Regions from separate parts of the Homo sapiens genome. Here region 2 is linked to region 1. The links are contacts of gene promoters, found by promoter capture Hi-C in blood cells and fetal thymus (Javierre and others, 2016). All regions are on one chromosome and are shown on one strand. The core of a region is centred on a gene start or on the middle of the fragment in contact, and the rest is flanking DNA. Distances in the headings are between cores, read along the strand shown.

Region 1 (6,505 bases), core at 1-2,500:
TTCTGTCTATATTATTCCTGCCTGGATGACATAGTGAGGTCTTCACTGCTGGAGAAGGGAGGGCTGGTGGGCCAGAGGGGAGACCCTGCAGAGGTGTGCAGTGTCCTTCTCTGCTGTTCATCTCAACCCGCTGTGTTAGGAAACCAGGAGGAAGCCCTACCTGGAATGAAACAGGTGCCTAGAATGAAGAGGGTAAGGACAAGGTTTAAGACTGTGACACCTGTTGCTTAAGAGACGCATTTAGGAGTGTGGCATGTAGATCCCAAATGTCCGTTTTGTAAAAGTTGTTGTTATTGTTTCACTTTTGTTGTTGTTGTTTGTTTGTTTTGAGATAGAGTCTCACTCTGTTGCCCAGGCTGGAGTGCAGTGGTGCAATCACAGCTCCCTGCAGCCTCAACCACCTGGCTCAAGCACTCCTCCCACCTCAGTCTCCCGAGTAGGCGGGGCCACATGTGTGCACTGCCATTCCTGGCTAAGTTTTCTTTTAATTCTTTGTAGAGACAGGGTTTCCCTATGTTGCCCAGGCTGGTCTTGAACTCCTGGCTTCAAGCAATCCTCACACTTCAGCCTCCTAAAGTGCTGGGATTACAGGCGTAAGCCACCACGCCCAGCCTGTTGTTATTGCTTTGAAGGAGTTCAGGAAATGCCACCCCCATGGCACTTGGGAGTGCTGATCCCTGTGAGCTGAGGGCACTTGGGAATCAGCGGATGCAGGCAGAGGTTTCCTCTGAGCTCCCCTTACCTGCCTGAAGACGGATCCTCCAAAAGGAACTCAGCTGTCATGAATCGCCTCCCCAGGAATCTCGTCAATCTGGGAGGATTAACACAGATCACAGGAGAGGACACTGGAGGTGACATCAGCCCAGATGACTATCACCCGTTCTCCCGAAGGCGGCTCTGAGATGTTTACGACCTCAGAGACATTTCATCCACAGAGCAGCACAACCTTTACTCACCAGACAGTCCCTCCCCAGGCTCTCCCATCACTTGTGTTCTCACCTCCCCTGGAAGCCCCGGGAACTTCGAAGTAGGCTTCTGTGGACTCCTGCCACTTCATCAGTAGCTGGGGCCCTGGTACCAGCACAAACTGCTTGCATCCAACTGACTTCACCAGACATACGGGCGTCTTTGGTAAGACCGCTCTCAGGTTTTGAATCTCCCAGGTTTGGGCTGAGATTCAGATTTTATTTAAGTAAATGAATTTCATGCTCAGTGGGACTGATATTGAAGCCGCCATTTAGGGCTTTAAGGCAGGAGTTTCGCGTCATTTCTCTAAAGATTCTGCTATTGGCAGGTTTGTGGTTTCACTTTTCTATTAGGTTAAGTTTTCGTTCGTCTTACTTGCTCTTTTGTAACCTTTTCTCTCATTGGACATTTTACTTGCTCAAGTTTGTAACCTTTTCTCTCATTGGACATTTTTTTACTTGCTCAAGTTTGTAACCTTTTCTCTCATTTGACATTTGGTTAAAGAGAAAGCAGTTTTCTTTGTAAAAGGAGAAAGTGAATGTTTGTGGCTTAAGCCAAATTTGTGGCTTTAAACCAGCCAGGCTTTGGATCTTGGTTAACATTGAGATTTAAAGTTTCTTCCTGAGTCACCCAAAATTTGTAAAAGGTTGGAATGAGGACGTGATAAGCTGAAGACAAAAAGGACTCTTTCTCCCAGCTGAAAGGCACCTTAGGCAATGGAGGTAACACAAGGGTGTGGAAGCTCACAACAAACCCCAGAGAAGAACTCACAGGGAGAGCTGCTTAACCCCCGGGGCACACAACACACAAGGGGTTCGTCACCCAGTGCCTTGAACTCCCAGAAATGTCTGGGTTTCTCTGAGGTAGGTAAGAGGGAAGAAGCTACTTGTAGGTGATACCTCCAGGAATAATCCCTACTAAGCAGCACACTGGACCCCAAACACTTTTCCCTTTTAGCCTTTGGGCATTTTAAAAGAGAATCCAAATTATGAGCAATTATCCATCTATAACCAAGCCCTCATTAAGCAATGCACCTTTGGAAACTCCAGCGGGGTTTATGTACAAGACTTATGGCGCCACCTCCTGTCGATAGTTGGAGAAATGGTCTTATTTGACCTAAGAAGATCCTAAATTACAATGATCAAAGAGAATTATCTTTGAAATAGCTAGATTAGTTTATTTATATGCACAATTTTAAAAAGCCAGCTATGGAATCAAATAAAATAATTAAGAGAGTTACTTCCAATGGCACCCAGAAGCATCCAAAAGAGGTTTTGACAGAATTCTTCCCTTAGAGGAAGAAAATAAAAAGCACTCTAAAACCATTACTGAATTTTAAAAAACACTGAAATGTCTTCTTCTCTCCCTGCTCCCCTGTCTCTCTAAGCCTCCTTGTCAGAACTACCCAGCCCTGATTGACCTTCTCCTCCTCCTCCTCCTGCCCCTCCTCCTGCTCCCACTGGTTTGGCTCCATTTCATCCAGCATCTGGTAGAGGGGAACCTGCTTTATCAATCATGATCAAACTTACAGGCATAGTTAAAAGAATTCCTTGATCTTCACCAGGTTCCTATTGGTTTTGCTAGGAAATTTGAATTAAATATCCAAGCTTATGACCCTAGTTATTCTGACTTCTAGCAACAGATTCACATGTTAGTAGCAAAAATTAAAGCTAAAGGCTGGCTAGACAAAGCTCACTGGAGAAATCTGTTAGGGATCTTCATAAATGTTCAGAAGAGGACCATAGACAGGCTTGAAGAACAGCAAAGGCTTTGCATCAGGCTATCTCCTCAGTTTTTCAGAGTAGTCAACTGGAACAAAATACAATATCAACAAAATTCAGATGAGTCAGTAATATACTTTGAGGGCTGTGGAAAAAATTTTAAAGAATATTTAGTTTTATCCGAAGAAAGCTGTGCTAATCATCGAAATGATACTCGACTCCAGTTTAACAAATGAGTTAGATGAATTGGAACTAACAATGAAAAGACAAAGTTGGGCCACTTCTGATACTCATGATTTGGTCAGTCTCATTGACCGGTTATCTGATACCTTAACTGAAGAAGAAAGAGAGAGGGAAGCCAAACAAAAGAGCGAGGCTAATACAATTATGAATTTACAATTAAAACAACTATTCACACAATTTTGGCCTTCACAATACCCCTAGAAACTCCCTAATGGACCTAACCTTCCACTTTGCAATTTTTGCAAAAAGCATGATTACTTTCAAAAGAGTTGCCAAAAATGAAAAAGGAAAGAATGTTAACCAGTGGAGGCAGAAAAGAAAACAGGGGTGCTCCAAGGAACTTAAAGGGGCCTTTCATTTCCTCCTTACTAACACTGGGAGAAATAAAAATTATTATAAATGGAGAACTAACACAAGCACTTATTGACACTGGAGCCACATTATCTGGAATTAATCCCATCTTGGTACAAGGTCCCATTCCTTGCAGTAAACAAAGAATTCAAATGGTGGGCATCACAATCCTCCTGTATTGGCATACCAATCTCAGCCTGTAACCTTTCAACAGTGTTCGTTACAAGGAACTCATGCCCTCCTCTTTGTTCCATCAGACCCCATCCATTCAACAGGAAGAAACTGCTTAGAATTATGTGATACCCACATTTCTTTCTCTCAAAGGAAGGAAATATATTTAAAATTAGATTATAAAACTCAACTTTGAGACACAACAGATATTTTAATAAAATTTTCAAAATCTAATCCAATTGCAATCCATATTGCCATGAAAGACAATGAATTATTGCTTAATGAAGAATTACAAAATGTACTAAAGACAGTACTTGATCCATTGTGGTCAGTGTCCTCCATTGATATAGAAACTATCATCTCAGCTACTCCAATAAATATTTAAATATACCCATGGAAACATCTTCAAAATACAAGACAATACCCCTTGAGAACTAAAGCTCTAGGAGGGATAAAGCTTATAATGTCAGATTATATAGAAAGATGACTGTTCATTCCTTGTACAAGCCATTGTAATACCCCAATCCTCCTGGTAAGAAAACCAAATGTTAGAGAATGGAGGTTTGTACAAGACTTGAGAGCAATAAACAACATGGCAATCCCATGGCACCCTATACTGCACAAGCCTATGTTACTCACAGCCATTCCTTCTAATGTGGAATTCCTTACAGTCATAGACTTATGTAGTACATTCTTTAGCATTCTTGTAGACAAAAATAGCCAATTTCTCTTTGCCTTCACTTGGGAAAACAGACAATACACTGGGTCACACAGGCCTCCAAGGATATGCTGAAAGCCTGACTTACTTTTCAAAAATATTAAAAATAGGCCTCTCAGATGTTAATTTCCTGGAAATGCATACATTAATCCAGTAAATAAATGACTTCCATCTTGGAGAGCAAACAAGATGTTCTGTGAATGATGGGCTACATTTATTACAAAAGGCAGCCCTAAGAAAACAAAGTCTCTAAAGAGAAACTTCAATTTTGTCGAAGACAAGTGATATACTTAGGCCACCTAATATCCAAGGAAGGATGTTTTATTAATTCAGACAGACTAGAAAGGATCTCAGCTTTTTACAACCAAGAATGAAGAGATGGTTGAGTGGGATTTTAGGACTGGCAGGATATTGTAGAAATTGGATTCCAAATTTTTATTTAAAAGCCCAATCCTTATATGCCCTCCTTTTTGTTTTTAAGACAGAGTCTCACTTGGCTAATTTTTGTATTTTTACTTGAGACGGGGTTTCACCATGTTGGCCAGGCTAGTCTTGAACTCCCGACCTTCATTGATCCACCCATCTTGGCCTCCCAAAGTCCTGGGATTACAGGCATGAGCCACTGCGCCCACCTTCCTTATATGCCCTCTTAATAGAGAACTTTAAACCCTCTAGACTGGATAAAAGAAAGTCAACTAACATTAGAAATGACTAAGAATGGTCTTGCCAATGCCTCTTCTTTGGGGCATGTAAATTATAACCTCACATTTTCATTGTTTGTACATGAAAATGATGGAAATGCTTTAGATAATCTGACTCAGAAACATGAAGGCTGAAATAGACCTGTAGGGCATTACAGCCAACAGTTAGGCCCGGTAGCCAAAGGATTGCCTCTTTGCATGAGAGATATAACAGCAACCACCTTGTTCATTAAGATGACCCAAGGAACTGTGGTGGGAACTCCCCTTACTGTTTTTATCCCTCATTCTGTGGAAGCATCACTAAACTCACACCACACTGGACATTATTCAATTAGTAGACGAGCTTCACATGAGTTTTACTTCTTTCAGCTTCTCCTATCACCATCTCCAGGTGTAACCTAAATCCTGACACTCTTCTGCCTTCATTTTCAGATGAAACACTGCATAATCACATAGCCCCAGTTGATTGGCTCCTCTTTCCTAGGACTGACTTGCAAGAGACTCCACTGATTAATGCTGATGTTGTTTGAGTTACAGGCAGCTCTTATTTAAAGGATGGATCAGGGACTTACCGAGCAGGTTACACAACAGTATCTTCAACTGAAGAAATAGAAAGGCTTACCTTCCAGAAGCCACCTCACATCAACAAGCAGAATTGCATTGATCAGGGTTTGTCAGTTGGCGAAAGGAATAATTGTTGATAATATTCATTACTAATATTCAGTAAATATGCTTTCAGAGTAGCTCATGATTTTGGAATGCTATGGAAACAGAGGATTTTTCACCTCTTCTGGTCAATCCATAAAAAATGGACACCTCATTTCACAATTGTTGGGAGCCATATTATTACCAAAGTCACTGGCCATAATTAAAATTCCAGGCCATTCTAAATCAAACACTCCAGAAAGCAAAGGAAATCAGCTAGCTAATAAGGTAGTAAAAAGAGCTACTGTAAATGTATCTAAACAAGAAAAATAATCTACAGTAATCTTAAAAGAAACACCTGCATTTGTATAAAATTACCTCAATCTGGGCTCCAAAACCAGAACATAAAAGTTGGAAAGCAAAGAGGGGGAACATACTCCCCCAAAGACGAGGTATGATATGGATCAAACAACATGCTTCTACTTCATGCTGAATTTTTGTTATCATTTCTAACTTATGCACATGACATAACTCCCCAGAGCCTGACAGAGTGATTGCTTGAGGGAAACGATATTTTGGAAACCTTCTCTGACTGTAGCACACAGGATGTACAGTTGTTACCTTTGCCCCCAAAATAATCCAGGGAGGCCTCTGTCAAAGTATGGCAATTACATTCCGTCCAGTTGCCGCTCTCACAAATATACACATATATTTTGGTAATGATTGGCATGTTTTCTCATTGGGTGCAGGTGTTTCTATGTAGAAGAGCAATGACCTTAGGGTGAGTACAATTCTCTTAGAAAACATTATTGCAGCCTGGGGAGTTCCTCTGGAGCTTCATAATGACAGAGACACTGGGATCACTGGATAAGTCATCCAACCAGTACGTTAAATTTGGCCCATTCTCCAGTATTTCCATTGTGTTGACCACCCCCAGTCATCTGGGTTAGTGGACCACACAAACAGAATAATCAAAGCTCAACTGGCAA
Region 2 (6,505 bases), core at 3,746-6,245, 2.4 Mb before region 1:
CCGGGGCAACAGAGCAAGACTCCATCTCAAAAAAAAATAGTGGTTTCTAAATTCATCTGAGGCCAGGTGAGGTGGCTCACGCCTGTAATCCCAGCACTTTGGAGGGCCGAGGCACGCAGATCACCTGAGGTGTTCAAGACCAGCCCGGCCAACATGGCAAACCCCTTTCTCTACTAAAAATACAAAAATTAGCCAGGCATGGTGGTGAGCGCCTGTAGTCCCAGCTACTCGGCAGCCTGAGGCAGGAGAATTGCTTGAACCTGGGAGGTGCAGGCGCAGTGAGCCAAGATAGTGCCACTGCACTCCTGCCTGAGCAACAGAGCAAGACTCTGTCTTAAAAAAAAAAAAAAAATTACCTGGGTGTGGTGGTGCACATCTGTAATCCCAGCTACTCAGAAAGAAGGCTGAAGCACAAGAATTGCTTGAGCCTGGGAGGCAAAGGTTGCAGTGAGCCAAGATCACGCCGCTGCACTCCAGCCTAAGTGACAGAGTGAGACTTGGTCTCAAACAACAAAAAAAAAAAGCAAAAACAAAAAAAGTACAGACAGGTAGGAAAAAAAAAAACCCACAGCAGTGAATTTTCATTCCTTATCACACACATCACCTACTTATTTCATTATCCAGTATGTCCTAAAATATTTCTGAAACAAACACAGAAGTTATTTCCCCATTACTCAAGATCAGAGACCATTTCTTCAACTAGCACTCATCACCTATTAGATACTTCCAAGCTTAACTCCCTTTCATTAAAAAATCATAATAGGCCAGGCTTGGTGGCTCACACCTGTAATCCCAGCACTTTGGAAGGTCGAGGAAGGTGGATTGAGGTCACAAGTTCAAGACCAGCCTGGCCAACATGGTGAAACCCTATCTCTACTAAAAATATAGAAGTTAGGCCAGCACGCTGGCTCACGCCTGTAATCCCAACACTTTGGGAGGCCAAGGCAGGCGGATGACCTGAGGTCAGGAGTTGGACAGGGCAAAACCCTGTCTCTACTAAAAATACAAAATTAGCTGGGTGTCGTGGTGCATGCCTGTAATCCCATGTACTCGGGAGGCTGAGGCAGGAGAATCGCTTGAACCTGGGAGGCAGAGGTTGCAGTGAGCTGAGATTGCACCACTGCACTCCAGCCTGGGCAACAAGAGTGAAACTCAAAAAAAAAAAAAAAAAAAAAAAAAAATTAGCCAGGATAGTGGCACGTGCCTGTAATCCCAGCTACTCCGGAGCCTGAGGTAGGAGAATCACTTGACACTAGGAGGCGGAGGCTGGGGTGAGCTGAGATCACGCCACTGCACTCCAGTCTGGGTGACAGAGTGAGACCCTGTCTCAAAAAAAATTATTATTATAATAAAATAGGGCCAGGCTCGGTGCTTCACACCTGTAATCCCAGCACTTTGGGAGGCCAAAGCAGGTGGATCACCTGCTTCCAAACCAGTCTGGCCAACATGGCAAAACCCACTCTCTACTAAATATACAACAATTAGCCAGGTGTAGTGGCGAACGCCTGTAATCTCAGCTACCAGGGAGGCTGAGGCAGGAGAATCGCTTGAACCCCAGAGGTGGAGGTTGCGGTGAGCCAAGATCGCGACACTGCACTCCAGCCTGGGTGACAGTGTGAGACTCTAAAATAAACAAAGCAACACTCGGTTAAGTACTCAGTCTCCAGTGCTGCTGAAACTTATTTTTTCCAACTTTCTTGAATTCTGGATTCCATTATTAATCACAGGAAGGTCATCAGGACATACACAAACTAGAAAGAATCTAATTCAATCAATACTTTCTAAGCACTCTGTGTCCTGGACATTCCTATAAACACAAATAACTTCAGATTCAAAGCCCACCCAAGTGGTACATGCCATCTCAAGGTGGCAGAGAGGAATAAGTATTAGTACACAGTTCATAAGCATACCAACTAGAGCACACACGTATATATGCACAACACAAATATAAAACACACTTTTAATTTAAGCCTTTGGTGGCAAAAGGTAAGTAGAAAAATATCAAAGGGGGAAAAATCATATGTAGTGTAAACTAAATCACCCTTCCAAAGACACGTAATTTTGCAACACAGCTTAAGAATTCTAAAATATGGCCTGGCGCAGTGGCTCACACCTGTGATCCCACCACTTTGGGAGGCCGAGGCGGGTGGATCACGAGGTCAAGAGTTCAAGACCAGCCTGGCCAAGATGGTGAAACCCCCGTCTCTACTAAAAATACAAAAATCAGTCGGGAGCAGTGGCAGGTGCCTGTAATCACAGCTACTCGGGAGGCTGAGGCAGGAGAATCGCTTGAACCCGTGCGGCAGAGGTTGCAGTGAGCCGAGATGGCGCCACTGCATCCAGCCTGGGCAATATGAGATTCCATCTCAACAACAACAAAAAAATCTAAAATCTGGCCAGGCACCTGGCTCACACTTGTAATTCTAGCACTTTGACAGGCCGGGATGAAAGACTCACTTGAGGCCAGGAGTTCGAGACCAGCCTGGGCACACAGGGTGATTCCACCTGCGCGCGCGCACACACACACACACACACACACACACACACACAGCCAGGTGCGGTGGGTCACGCCTGTAATCCCAGCACTTTGGGAGGCGGAGGCAGGGGATCACCTGAGGTCAGGTGTTCGAGACCAGCCTGACCAACATGGTGAAACCGTCTCTACTAAAAATACAAAAATTAGCCAGGCGTGGTGACACGCGCCTGTCATCCCAGCTACCTGGCAGGCTGAAGCAGGAGAATGGCTTGAACCCAGGAGTGCAGTGAGCCAAGACCGCGCCACTGCACTCCAGCCTGGGACACAGAGCAAGGACTCCATCTCAAGTAAATCAGTCAGTCAACTAATCATCAATCAATATTCCTTCTCAAGTAGGATATCTCCAGGAACATGAAACAGGTCAACAGTGATTTATGTCCATACAAAAACATAAAGGGTTTTGTTTGACAAAACACCTCATTAATATCAATACAAAAAAAAAAATCACATTTTTACTAGTTGACTTTTCTGCAGGTAGGCGTTGTCGTTTTTCCATTCCTACATCATCGTTTCTAACATATTCTTGTTTTCACCAACTTTGCTCTTCTTCTCATTAACCTCATTTTTTTGAGTTTGATATTCTCAAATTCTATTCATCCTTGAACTACACCATTTGCTAAATCCTGCCACTGATCCTACTCTTACTCGCTAATGAGCCTGCAGTTACCCGCCTCTCACCACCAGGTGGGGTCCTGCACAAATTTAACCAAACCACATTTTGAACAGAATCATTTCTGAGGAAATGAAAAAGTTTTAAAAAGGTTTCCAAAAAACGCTGTTAATCCAGTGTGTAACCTCGATGCAAATAAATACTAAGAAGTAAAAATCCCGTCAAAACGTCAACTCACAAATACAAAGGCTAATTACATTCTCTTATTCCTCAACAGATATCTGTAAGCATTAACCAATATAGAAGCTGACCTTTACAGCAGACGACAGTAAGGTGTCTGTGCGGTCCCGCGGTGACACCCAGTCCACAGCGACACGTTCAGGATGACTAAAAATACCTGCCCAAGTTATGAAGTGCCCTCTTATAATACTCTTTAAAGTGACAGCCGGACGCGCGGGCTCACACCTGTAATCCAGCACTTTGCGAAGCCGAGGCGGGTGGATCACCTGAGGTCAGGAGTTCGAGACCAGCCTGAACAACATAGTGAAACCTCGTCTCTAATAAAAATAGAAAAAATTAGCTGGGCGTGGTGGCGCATGCCTGTAATCCCAGCTACTCGGGAGGCTGAGGCAGGAGAATCGCTTGAACCTGGGAGGCGAAGTTGCAGTGAGCCAAGATGGTGCCATTATACTCCAGCAGGGGCAAGAGCTAAACTCCATCTCACACACACACACACACACACACACACACACACACACACACACACAAAAGGCCGGGCGCGGTGGCTCATGCCTGTAATCCCAGCACTTTGGGAGGCCGAGGAGGCGGATCACGAGGTCAGGAGATCAAGACCATCCTGGCTAACACGGTGAAACCCCGTCTCTACTAAAAAAATACAAAAAAATTAGCCGGCTGTGGTGGCGGAAGCTTGAAGTCCCAGCTACTCGGGAGGCTGAGGCAGGAGAATGGTGTGACCCCGGGAGGTGGAGCTTGCAGTGAGCCGAGATCGCGCCACCGCATTAATTACGGCCTGGGCGACAGAGCAAGACTCCGTCTCAAAAAAAAAAAAAAAAAAAAAAAAAAAAAAGGTGCAAACAGACCATTCCACCCCCACCTCAGACCTGGATTTAGGTTATCTAGGTTGAAGACTGATGAGGGTGACGGGTACCACTGTCCAAAACAGAGTTAATAGAAGGGAATTACGGGCTTGCTTAAAAATGAAAGCTAATGTACGCCACTCAGTAACAGGTATCACACTGTAATACCATATGCATATTTTAGTCTTCACAACATTCAACACTCCCCACCTAGTGTTCCGGAAAAACTGTCCTACAGCCAGAATTACTTCCCAAACCTAACACTTTCATATCCAGAAGAAAATAAATTTTAAAACACTGTTTTGAAGAGAGTGCTGAACTCATCTCAAATTCTTTAAGAGCTCTGCCCTCTGGAATTCCCAACTTTCTCACCTTCCACAGCACAGATGAAGCCTGGACACTTTCCAAAAGCTTCCCAACCCCTTTGTTCTCCCACTTCCTGTCAAATCTCCACATCTACCAACTTAAGGCAACTTACTTCCCAAATTTCACAGCCTGCGTAATCCACAAAAACCCGCAGCTCGCTGAAGCGTGCATAAAAACTATTCATCCCTTTATCACGGAAGGCAGAAAGAAATGTGAAAGCACAAACTCCAAGGGAGCTTAAGGCCCTCAGGAGTGGAAACAAGTCTGGAGTCGGCGAGGCGCGGTGGCTCGCGCCTCTAATCCCAACACTTTGGGAGGCCGAGGCAGGCGATCACTTTAGGTCATAAGTTCGAGACCAGCCTGACCAACACGGTGAAACCCCCGTCTCTACTAAAAATACAAAAATTAGTCGGACATGGTGGCGAGCACCCGTAACCCCAGCTACTCAGGAGGCTGAGGCAGGAGACTCGCTTGAACCTGGGAGCTGGAAGTTGCAGTGAGTGGAGATCGCGCCACTGCACTCTGGCCTGGGCAACAGAACAGACTCCGTCTCAGGAAAAAAAAAAAAAGGAAGTCTGGAGTAAACCCAGAGAGAACGCGGGACGGGTGGACTGGCGGAGGAGTAAGGCGGCTGCATATAATTCCTTTCAGAAATCATGAATCGTTCTGATACGCAACACTATTTGGAAAAGTGCGGTTAAACACGAAGCAGCAGCAATCAAGCTTTAATGGTTAACGTCTGTTTCCTTTCTTCGGTCTTCACTCTAACTTTTCTACTAAATCAATAATTTGGCTTAAATTGTAGCGACAAATCCTTACTAAAATTCGCAACTCAATAAAAACGTTGAAAACTACAAAGAGCGCCGCTCAGCCTACTCTTCCCAAACAGGCTGAAGCCTCCGAGCTCGCAGGCGGCACCCCTTCGGTGGTGGCACGATCGTTCTACTTGCGCTGTTTCCTGCCCCGTTTACGTGAGAAGTTAGCACAGAAGTTTACGTCTGACTAGCAAACCCATCCTTTAAAAAATTCGCTAGTGCCAAAACCTTTCTCGAGCCAATATATGATTTGCAGTTTACACTGCGTGTGTCACTGACCTTCCTTAGGTAAGAGTTAATGTAAACTTCTTATATAAACTTCAGTTGCATCAACTACGGTGCAGATTCTTTAACGCAAAGCAAAGCAGACAAACATTCTGAGTGAGAAAGGCAGCCTGCTCTTCCACAAACTTCTGAACAATCCGTCCGGAGTTCTAGAAACAGGGCTTTGCGGTCCCCCACCTGCTTCTTCTCCCTCCGAACTTGGCGGCACGGCTGCGGCATTCCTGCTCCGCAAGCCACTCCCGTTTCTGGTTTCAGACGCGAGTGCGGGAGCCTTAGAAAAAGAAGGCGCTCCACGCCTCCCACGCTGCCGGCCCCGCCGAGCCCCAGCCGAGCCCCAGCCGGCCGCTCCCAGGCCGGGCCCCACCCCCAACCGCCGCCGCGGAGGCTGGGCCGCGTTCCGGCAAGGACGCCGGGCGGGGAGGACGCGGCCGGGCGGCCCCAGACCCCAGCCCCGGCCCCGGCCCCAGACCTGACCCAGAGGACCCCGCCCACCCTTCGCCCCGCAACCCCGGCCACGGCCCCCGCCCCGTCCAGTCCTTTCCCCGGCCGGCGACCCCGGTCACCCCCCGCGCTGTTGCCAGGCGCCGGGTGAGGTCCGCCGTCTGCCGGGCGCGCGCGGGGCCCTAGGCGACCTCCCCCGACCCTCGGAACAGACCCTCACCGAGGACAGAAGCGGCCGGTGGCGGGACGCAGGGGAGGCAGGGTGACGGCCCGAATCTCCTCACAGCTCCAGGACTGCTGCGCTGGTGGTGGCGGCGGCTCCTCGCGCTTTCCTTTCTCTCCTTTCTCCAACAAC

What was found. The method cuts DNA at HindIII sites, captures the fragments that hold promoters and counts their contacts. A CHiCAGO score of 5 or more calls a contact.
Region 2: a contact is called between a fragment that was not itself captured here and the fragment with the promoter of PAXIP1-AS2 in region 1, in 1 of 17 cell types (total B cells). The highest score is 9.4, in total B cells.

What each region holds. Positions count from the first base shown.
Region 1 is chr7:154,923,262-154,929,766 of GRCh38, reverse strand. It overlaps PAXIP1-AS2 (PAXIP1 antisense RNA 2), which reads right to left and starts at 1,250. Exons shown (of 8, transcript NR_024476.1): 1 at 1,000-1,250; 2 at 743-811. RefSeq lists enhancers at 620-839, 990-1,089, 1,110-1,169. The HindIII fragment of the contact is 7,419 bases long and covers 1-2,575 here.
Region 2 is chr7:157,337,010-157,343,514 of GRCh38, reverse strand. It overlaps DNAJB6 (DnaJ heat shock protein family (Hsp40) member B6), which reads right to left. Exons shown (of 10, transcript NM_058246.4): 1 at 6,371-6,505. Among named protein-coding and RNA genes, the nearest start is that of DNAJB6, 3.3 kb to the right of the region's middle. RefSeq lists enhancers at 2,456-2,976, 5,279-5,328, 6,057-6,505 and silencers at 5,989-6,178, 6,239-6,448. The HindIII fragment of the contact is 678 bases long and covers 4,657-5,334 here.